Regions from separate parts of the Homo sapiens genome. Here region 1 is linked to region 2. Evidence: promoter capture Hi-C in human tissues and cell types (Jung and others, 2019). All regions are on one chromosome and are shown on one strand. Each heading gives the region's core, a stretch centred on a gene start or on the middle of the fragment in contact. The rest is flanking DNA. Distances are from core to core; before and after follow the strand shown. Region 1 has its middle 32 kb from the start of TRA-AGC15-1. Region 2 holds the start of KCNK13 (potassium two pore domain channel subfamily K member 13).

Region 1 (5,126 bases), core at 745-3,244, 1.1 Mb before region 2:
TTAAATACAGCCCTGTCAGTACCTGACATCTATACTTTCTCCTTTGTGCCCTAGGTTTGGTTTTCACTTGAAAGTCAAATACTTTGTCCGACAGTGGACCCGGCGGTGTTCCCCCCAGCTTCTAGCAGGTCTGCAGGCCTCATGTCTCCTCTCACAGCGCATGCAGGGATGGTCTCCCAGCTGAGAGAATGCACCGCAGCAACCACAGCCTGACCTCCAGACCAAGGGTGAAGGACTCTACCGACCAGCGATGAAGGAGCACCCGCGTCTTCAAGCCCTTCCGTGCACCACCGCTTCCTGGTGTCCAAGGCAGCAAATCAGCATCAACATTTTCCAAGACCTTCTGACCCTTTGGTGGAGCCAAAAAAGGAAAAGAAGACTCAATCCCTGCCTTCAGGATCTCACATATAAAAATAACTAATAGCAAAAGGCAGCTTGAGCTGCCTGGGATCTGGGGACCATTTATCCAATTGTTTCATCATCAGTCAACATCCATCTCCCCAGTGTCTAGTAGAGGGGTTGGCACATGCTTTTTCTGTAAGGAAACAGATTATAAATATTTTCTGTTTTAGGAGACAGATGGCCTCTGTTGCATCTACTCAGTTCTGCTATTGTAGGGCTAAAGAAGCCATAGACAATATATAAATGAATGAGCATTGCTATTTTCCAGTAAAACTTTATTTGTGGACACTGACCTTTGAATTTCATATCACTTTCACATGTCACAAAATATCATTCTTTTGGGGGATTTCCCTCCCAACCATTAAAAAATGTAAAAACCATTCTTAGTTCACAGGCTAGACAAAAACAGGTGGTTGGGGGATGAAATATGGCCCAGGGGCTGTAGTTTGTGGCCTTCTGTCCCAGTTGGGGGTGAAGCTCTGGGCTGGGCACAGGGGATGCAGCAATGACTGAGACCAGGTCCCTGTCGCCATTAGCCTACAGTCCAGTGGGGAGCAGACAAGCAAACAAGCCATGACCAGTCCAAGGGATGAGAAGGTGTGAGAGGAGACACAGGCAGAACCACCCTTGGAGGGGCCCTGGGAGATTGGAGGATGCTGGGGAGGGCTTCTCAGAGGCAGACAGAACTCAAACCAGCAGAGCCAGACAGACCCCACAAATGGCCTCCCTGAATGGGGGTTTGAAAGTAAGCTTGCCCTGCAGGGTGGGAAGTTTCAGCCTGAAAACTCTCTGAGCTTTGGAAAAAGCTCACCTCCCTTGGGTGTCTGCTAGAACCAAGTCTTGTGATGAAAAGGAACATGGCACTCACGAGAATGGCTTCAGGGAAGCCTCCTGCTCTGTTCTGTTCCATGTTCTCCACATGTGTGGGAGGCATTGAGGAAACCTTTCTGAATAAAATCAAATGGGCAGACTGGCCCTCTAGACAGGCACAGAGGCACAGTGCCACAGGCAGAGTGGGTTGAATGCAGTAGGTCCTTATGATGTGCTTGGCAGGAGAGGAGTCTCTGGCTGTTATGGATTCCACCATGTCCCTCAAAAGTTCATATGTTGAAATCCTAACCCCCAGCGCCTCAGAATGTGAGCTCATTTGGAAATAGGGTTGTTATACACATAATTAGTTAAGATGAGGCCAGACTGGGGTAGGGTGGGCCCTTAATCCAGTATGACAGGCGTCCTGAGAAAAAAGAGGAAATGTGGACACAGACACCCAGACACAGGGAGGACACGGTGTGAAGATTGGAATTCTGCTGCCACAAGCCCAGGAACAACAGAGATTTCCAGCGAATGATCAGAGGGTGGAGGAGAGGCCTGGAACAGAGTCTCCCTCAGAGCCTCCAGGACGAACCAATCCTGTTGACACTTTGATCTAGCTTCCAGAACTGTAAGACAATAAATTCCTATTGTTTACACCACCCAGTCAGTCAGTGGTACTTACTTCCCCAGTGGAACTGTGCATTTGGAGAAGGCACCTCAGACAGAAGCTGGAGCGGTCTAGGCTTAAATAAAAATGCAGGGTTTTAAATACATATATATATATACATATATATACACACACACACTATATATATATTAAAATATATATATATATTGTATGTGTGTATATACATATATATATATGTATACACACACACACACACACAAGTCTAGCTGCCCTATATAGAAGGAGGAAGGGAGGGAAGAAGAAGAAAGAGAAGATGTTGGAGAGGGAAGAGAGAGAAGAAGGAAAGAGAGGATGAAGAGGAGAAGGAGGAAGAGGAGGAAGAGAAAGGGGAAAAGGAGGAAAGAGAAAGAGAGAAGAACAAGGAGGAGGTAAGAAGGAGGATAGGGAGGAGGAAGAGAAAAAGAAGGAGAAGAAGAGGAGGAGGAAAGAGAGAGAGGGAGAGGAGGAAAGAGAGAGAGGGAAAGGAGGAGGAGGAGGAGATGCCCAACGGAGCCCCAGCAGTTCCAGGTTCCAGCCCAGGTGCCAGAGAGCCAGTGAAGAAGCCCTTGAATGACCTCAGCCCCATCACCACCTGACTGTCACTGCATGAGACACCATGAGTGATCACTTCCAGTTCGGCCCAGTCAGCCCTAGATCTGCGAGCCCAAGGTGATGGAAAACAGGCCTATCGGCACCCCCTTACTGAACACCTTGCAGGTGCCCAGAGGGTGGGGAGCATGCCACTGGGCCAGGGCTCAGTCTTCCCAGGCTTCTCTTGGGAAATCCTAGCCCCAACCAGAAGCATTCTGTCCTCCTCTCTGGGCTCCCTAGGTACAAATGTATATATATTTTCTATCCAAAAATCTACTTTCTTGTAATTTTATTTTTTCTACAAAGTATTTATTGTAGACATATAAGAAGATATCAAAAGCATGAAAAAGGAAACAAAAGTCACTCATATTCTCACCACTCAGACATTTTAAAAAGTGTATTTATTTTTGGCCAGGTGCGGTGGCTCATGCCTGTAATCCCAGCACTTTGGAAGGCTGAGGCAGGTGGATCATTTGAGGTCAGGAGTTCCAGACCAGCCTGGTCAACATGGAGAGACCTTGTCTGTACTAAAAACACAAAAATTAGCCAGCCATGGTGGGGGGCACCTGTAATCCCAGCTACTTGGGAGGCTGAGGCAGGAGAATCGCTTGAACCGGGGAGGCGGGGGTTAGAGTGAGGGGAGATCCTGCCACTGCACTCCAGCCTGGGCAACAGAATGAGACTCTGTCTCAAAAAAAAAAGTATTTATTTTTAACACACACAGTTTTTACATGAATGAGATTCCACTGTGCCTATTTTTAACCCGATTTTTTTCATTTGACAATATATTGTGAAGGTCTGTCAAAATATACTCTTCTAGCTTTTTGTTTTGAATGAAGAACATTTCTTTCTATGAATATGCAGTAGTCTTCCTTTTGTCCAATGTCTCAGCAGCTGCTTAATTAATAGAAAAAGCTGATAAGATTTTGGAATCCTGGACAATTTCACATATGTACCTTAGGCATTTTAGTTCCAATGAAAGCATAAAAAAATGCATATTCACTCACCAGTCTTTTGCACAGAGCACAGGACTTGCTAGCTGGAGTGCTAGCTCTTTGTCTCACCTAAACCACACCCATGATGGCACCATCTACATCTCCAGTTTCTGTGTCTTTAATGTGGAGTGAGTACTTAAAGATACAGCCAAGCAATTCTGGTGTAAAATCCTCATAATTTTCCCCACTCATTTATAGCTGTTTCACCCACATCTCATTCTGCAGCAATTCTTTGGCAACTTTCCATTTATGAAGTCTTTCCTAGGCATTTAACACAGTTTTCATAGAAACACATATTCTCTCTGCATGCACACTTCATCAGTTTGCATAATATTTAGTTATATTATGAGATAAAATTAATGCATACAGCTGCCATAAACTACTTTGGAGGCAAAGCCAACAGACTCACTAAACTCACACCTCAGCAGTCGGGAGCTGGAGTATTGAGTACCCTTATATGCACAGGCACACCGGCAGGGCCATGGCCTCAGTCACCAGGTTTTACAGAGGAAGAGGAGTCTGGTTCAGTTAGGTAGGTTGAGAGAGCTTTCACCTTCCCAGGATTCATTCAGCCCTGTGATGGAGAGTTTGGTAGTTTCCTATTATATTTTTCTGTTGTGAACAATGCTCCGCCGAATGTTCTTGTTACTAACTTCTTGATGTTGTAATATTTGGAACAAAATTGAGTATTTCTTGGAATGAATAAATGTGTAGCGGTCGAGATACAGAGACCAGTGGTCTGCATGCTTTTAAAGGTTGTGATAAGATTTGTCAAATGGTCCTGCACACAGCACCTATCAGCACTAGGCATGAGTGTTTTCCCATCCCCTTCTCAACTCTGGATAGAAAGGAAGAGTTGCATCATACATAACTTCAGGAAATTCAACTCTATGTGTTCAGCAACTCCTCCACAAAAAGACAAAAAAGCACAAACATTTATAGTACAAGCAGTTGAAGTATTGACTTCGACTGCTGCTCCAACCTTGTTGGAAAGACAGCCTGTGGTGACTTACTAAGAGATGCGGCAGGGACGGTCTGTGCAGTTTGTCACTAAGGTGTCCGTGTCCTATCCACAGAGGTCCTTTGGGTCTGGGTGCTTTCCCCACGACTGCGGGGTTACAGTAACATTCCTGCTTAATTTCACAAGCCAGCCCTCTCCTCTCTGAGGTCTTGCTGGATCTACCAGAAAGCAGACTGCTGGGTCCCCTGTGTCAGAACCTCCCAGTGCCTATAACCTCATCACCTCACCTCCATTTTCCCACCCCACAGTCTGGGGAATTCTTGCTTAATCTTTAGGGAAAGCCTCCCTTTTCCCAAAATGTGGTCTCCTATCTAGGGCTTCAGGCTCTTAGGAACCAAAGCCAGGAGGAGGCTCCTGGGGTGTTGTCAGAGCCCTCCTGGGATAGACTGGCTGATTGAATGAGGAGAAGGGCAATGAAGGAAAATGTCGGCAGAAAGAAAGTTATGATTACAACAAAATGGGCCAGGTGTGGTGTCTAACACCTGTAATCCCAGCCCTTTGGAAGGCCGAGGGGGATGGATCACTGGAGGTCAGGGGTTCCAGACCAGCCTGGCCAACATGGTGAAACCCTACTAAAAATACGAAAAAATTAGCTGGACCTGTAGTTCCAGCTACTCGGGAGGCTAAGGCAGGAGAA
Region 2 (5,182 bases), core at 2,540-5,039:
ACTACAGCAAACAATTGAAAAGTAAAATTTTGAAATTCCATTTACAATAACATCAAAAGAATATAAAATACTTTAGAATGAATTTACAAGAGATGTGCAAAATCTCCATATGAAAACTTGGTTAAGAAACCCTAAATAAATAGAGGAATATACCTCTTTCATGAATTGTCAAGATGTTCTTCCCAAAATAGATCCAACACAATCCCAGAAATCAAGATCCCACAGCTTTTTGGAGGAAATTAAGCTGATTCTATGATTTTTTAGTGGAAGTGTAAAAGTTTTATAACATCCAAAGAATCTTGAAAAAGAAGAACAAAGTTAGAGGACTCAATTATAGTCCCACTAAAGACCTACTATAGAGCTATAAGTATGTAAATCCTGTGGTATTAGCATAAGGGTGGGCAAATAATGAACAAATTAAATTCCTGAAACTCAGGCATATTTATCTTTTCAACAAATAGCATTGGAATAACTGGAAATCCACCTGGACAAAATGACCTTTGACTCTTACCTCATACCATAAGGAAACAAACTTAAATGGATCGTAGACCCAAATATAAAAGTGTGGGGAGACAGAAAACCTATGCAACCTTGAAGGAGGTAATGATTTCTCAAAGGGCACCAAACATACAGAAAACATATTTAAGAAAATAAATAGGCAAATCAGAGTTAGAAAATATTTGCAAGATATGTATCTGAGAAAGTACTCGTATCCTGCATATATAAAGGATCTCTATAATTCAGTAACAGAGAAACTAATTTTTTAAGTGGGCAAAATATTTCAACAGAAAATTCACAAGAGAAGGTACACAAGTGGCCAGCAAGCGCATTAGACATCAGGGAAATGCAAATTAAAACCACAGTGAGATATCGCTACATCCACCAGTATTTTTAGACATCAGGGAAATGCAAATTAAAACCACAGTGAGATATTGCTACATCCACCAGTAGTTTTAAAATTAAAATGACTGATACTGCCAAATGTTGACAAAGATACGGAGCATCCAGAACTAGTGTACACTGTCAGTACAGCTGCTTTGGGAAAATGTCGGGCAGTTTCTCATAAAGCAAAATACATACCTACCCTATGACCCAGCAATTCCGCTCCTAGGTCTTTACGTAAGAGATATGAAAACATATGTCTACATAGTTGTACAAGAATGTTCCTAACAGTTTTATTTATGATGACCAAAATTTTCTAACAGTTCTCCTTTCTATCAATAGGAGGAGAATGAATAAACAAACTATGGTATACCCAAACAATGAAAAACTAGCAATAAAGAGGAAGGAATTACTAAGACATATAACATGGGTAAATCTCAAAAACATAATGTTTTCCACCAAAGAGTACATACCGGCATGATTCCATTTATATGGAGATTTAGAACAAAAAAACAGTTCTATAAAAGCGAAAGTAATCGATGGTAGAAAAATTCTGAACAGTGGTTTTCTCTGGAGGAATGTGGGTAGGGAGTTACAGGGAAGGGACTTAGGGGGACCCTGTTGGTGATGTTTGGCTGGTAGGTTGGATAGGTGATTTGCAGAGGTGTACCCATTTGTCAGAACTCACCTAATGATACACTTAAGATTTGTGCATTTCATTGTATGTAAATTTTATCCGAAAAGGAAAAAAATTCTGCAAGTAAATATTGAACCCTACGTAGTGATATGCAGGCAGAAGTACTGGGGATGAGGGCGGAAGTGTACCAAGCTCTGCAACTTACTCTGAAATGCATCCAAACAAGATGGGTTGATGGATGGACAGAGGGACGGGTAGATATCTAATAAATCAAGTATAGTAACATGTTAATTGTAGAATCTAGGTGGTGGGTATACGGGTGTTCACTGTAAAATTCAACTTTTTAGAATGTTTGAAATTTTTCATAATAAAATGGATTTAAAAGGTAATTGCAGTACTCACCCTGGGTGTATACACATGCACCCATTCTCGCGATGCCCCTAAAGCTCTTGCCCCTCAGAAGGCTAGATGAAAGAGGGGCATTGGGGAGTGAGTAACAGAGCCGAGAGGACTGCTAACAGCACCAGGGTTTCTGATGAAAATGCACTCGCCAGAGCTGTGTTTCTTTATTCGAAATCACACGGTTTTACTCAACAGGGCTCCTAGCCCTTCTGTCTCTGCTCCTGGTGCGTAAGGGCGGTGTGTGGGGCTCTGCGCCTGAAACCGCTCTCTCGGAAGGTGGGAAGATGCCCACGTATCCATTCCTCTCCGCGTACAGATTCGCTCCCACACGCCCGGGCGGGTGATTCCGGAGGGCCGCGCGGGGCTGTGTGCGCGGGCGGGGGCGGGATGTGTCTGGAGGGGGCAGAGCGCCCTCTCCCGGCCCCGGAGGGCCCACGCGGACCGGCTGAGCGTCCCACCAGCCGGTTCTGCATCCACTACCCAGATCTGCGCGCCCTGGTGGGAGCACCGCAGCCCCGGGTCGGCCCTTCGAACGCCGAGCGTCTACCCGCGGAGACCAGCGCAGGAGGCGGGCCCGCGCGCAAGGAGGCGGGCGACAGGGTGGAGTCGCCGCAGCTGGCAGCCGCACGGCTCTACCTGTTGCAGCGTCGGAGCGCGCCCGCCTGAGAAGGCAGAGCGCGGTGCGGACCTGTGCTCCGCGCGCCGGCTGGCAGGGCAGGGCCGCGGCTGCCAGGAGGCCCGGGAACAGTCCCGACGGAGCGGCGCGGAGAGGGCGCTCCCCGGAAGGTGAGATCTGAGCGCGGCAGCGGCGCCAGCGCCCGCTACAAGGCGGGGTCTCGGGGAGGGGGCCCCGGCGGTTTGCTGGAGAGCCTTGCTACTGTTCTGCATGAGGTGGGGGATGCCTTCTGCGCGGACCCCGCGTCCAGGCAAAACTCTGGAACGCACTAGGCAGCCAAGCCCGGGGGGAAGAGATGGAACGCTCCAAGGTCAAGGTCTCCTGGCCGCGGAGCCCTTCCAGCCCCCAGTGTTTGGCCTCCTCTCCGGAAGCGGGGCTGGCTCGCGGTGCGCGCTTGGTCCGGGCGGAGCCTACTAGTAGGCGCAGAGGACGCCCCCGCGCAGGATCCAGAGACCAAGGGCGCTCTGGCATGGTCAAGGCGAGGGAGGCTGCCCGGGGGAGAAGCCCCTAACTTCCTTTGCTCCCTGTTCCAACCTCCCTTTCTGGTCTCCTCTCTCCAGCCCGTCCGCCCAACGGATGCGCAGCGTTGGGGCCCGGCCGGAGGTCGGAGCCCTCGGACGCCGCAGCCCTCGGACGCCGCTCAGCACAGCCCCTCTCTCCGTGCGCCCGCCCTGGACCCCCTCCATCCCTAAGCCCCGGCAGCCGATTCGGAGACTCGGGAGGCCACAGGCTCAGCGCGACACCACGACCACAACTAGGAGGCACCATCGTCGATCTACCTGGGGAGGCACCTACAAAGCCAGCAGACTGACACCCGTGTCCTAGCCGTCGGCGGCCTGCGAAGCGATAGTCAAAGGAACCAGGACCCAGGACCCCGGCGCTCTGCTTACCCGCAGACCTCCGGACCGCGCCCCCCCCCCGCCGCCCCGCCCCGCCCCGCCCCGCCCCGCGACCGTCTCTTTGCGGGAAACTCGAGTTGGCTCGAGCTTGCCCTGAAGACGCGCCACGCCCCCTCCCCTATCTGAGCCGGACAGGGAGCCGGGGTGGAAACTGCGCCCGCATCCCAGCGCCAAGCAGACGTGAACTCTGCGCCCGTTCCCCGGGACCTTCAGCGTTAAGGAGAACTCCGAGGAGAGCAGGGGGAGTGGAGGGGAACGGCGGCGACAAAGCGGATTTGAAACTAGGAGTCAAGGAGGACGTGGGGAGCTGGCGCCACAGGAGCTACCGAGGCGGCGGCCGGGGGAGCCTCGCGGCCTGCGGGAGAGCCCGGCGGTCATGGGCGAGCCGGCGGTGGGGCGCCCGGGAGCTGGCTGAGCGCCGGGGCCCTTATTTCCCGGGGGTGTGGGCGAGACTCCGCCGACGCCCGGTGCCGTGGGCCTGGGGGCTGCCCCCGGGGGCCCGGCCATGGCTGGCCGGGGTTTCAGCTGGGGCCCGGGCCACCTGAACGAGGACAACGCGCGCTTTCTGCTGCTGGCCGCGCTCATCGTGCTCTACCTGCTGGGCGGCGCCGCCGTCTTCTCCGCGCTGGAGCTGGCGCACGAGCGCCAGGCCAAGCAGCGCTGGGAGGAGCGCCTGGCCAACTTCAGCCGCGGCCACAACCTGAGCCGCGACGAGCTGCGCGGCTTCCTCCGCCACTACGAGGAGGCCACTCGGGCCGGCATCCGCGTGGACAACGTCCGCCCGCGCTGGGACTTCACCGGCGCCTTCTACTTCGTGGGCACCGTCGTTTCCACCATAGGTAAGTGTGCTGGCCGGACTCGCTGACAACCTCCGGGCGGCCTCCACTTCCTCCGGGGGGCAGGACCGACCCTCTCATCCTTTCATTCATCCATCTGGGCGCCCAGCCAGACTCCACTGACATGAGCTGTCGCCTGATCAACAGGTGGTATTGCCTCCCCGCTGCTCTAATGTGGTCCAGGCACCGGCAGCTTCAGCGTCACCTGGCAGCTTGTTAGAAATGCAGTCTCAGTCCCCTCTGCAGACCTGCCGAGTCAGAATCTGCATGTTAACAAAGTCCCCAAAGGATTGGAATGATCCTTAAATTGGAGACGCTCTGCTCTGGGAGATTTTCAGTCTAATGAAGGAGACACGGCTTGAGTTCATGGGGAAGAAGGCTTTTACAGATAGGGACAGGAAACTAAACATTTACTGAGTCAGTCAGAGGGGAAGTGCAGATTTTAAAAGATTCTGCCCTCGACTTCACACTTACCGAGAAAAAATCAGAACAGCAGACTGAAAGTGAGGAAGCAAAAGTGCCAATGACGGTTCAAAAGATGGAAAATTTTCCACCAGGAAGAACCAGGGAAGTGACCTTTGGGCTGAATCAATTCGTGTTAGGCATAACTTGGGTTTGGGAACTGAAAGCGCGGTTGCACTCTAGAGTAGGAGAGAATCGCACTCAGGGGCCCCATGAGCTGGTTGGAGTGGTGGAAGGAAGACTAGGAAGGTCTGCTGGCTAATGGGATGGAGGCGGGGGTAGGACCTTCACTGACAGACTGAGGAGCTGGAATTTACCTAGAGGCACCTGGGAGCCATTGAGAATTTTTTAGCAAAGATGTAGCACAGCTACAATCAGCTGTGTTTAT

Evidence for each region. The method cuts DNA at HindIII sites, captures the fragments that hold promoters and counts their contacts. A contact is called where the count stands out against the background at its distance.
Region 1: a contact is called between a fragment that was not itself captured here and the fragment with the promoter of KCNK13 in region 2, in 1 of the 25 tissues and cell types used here (lymphoblastoid cells).

Annotation. Positions count from the first base shown.
Region 1 is chr14:88,944,109-88,949,234 of GRCh38, forward strand. No RefSeq gene overlaps it. Among named protein-coding and RNA genes, the nearest start is that of TRA-AGC15-1, 32 kb to the right of the region's middle. The HindIII fragment of the contact is 4,880 bases long and covers 1-4,434 here.
Region 2 is chr14:90,058,205-90,063,386 of GRCh38, forward strand. KCNK13 (potassium two pore domain channel subfamily K member 13) reads left to right here and starts at 3,790. Exons shown (of 2, transcript NM_022054.4): 1 at 3,790-4,335. The coding sequence starts at 4,002. LOC124903406 reads left to right here. Exons shown (of 3, transcript XM_047432048.1): 2 at 2,198-2,707; 3 at 3,158-3,529. The coding sequence ends at 3,422. RefSeq lists a silencer at 2,093-2,482 and enhancers at 2,731-3,232, 3,233-3,732. The HindIII fragment of the contact is 23,188 bases long and covers 1-5,182 here.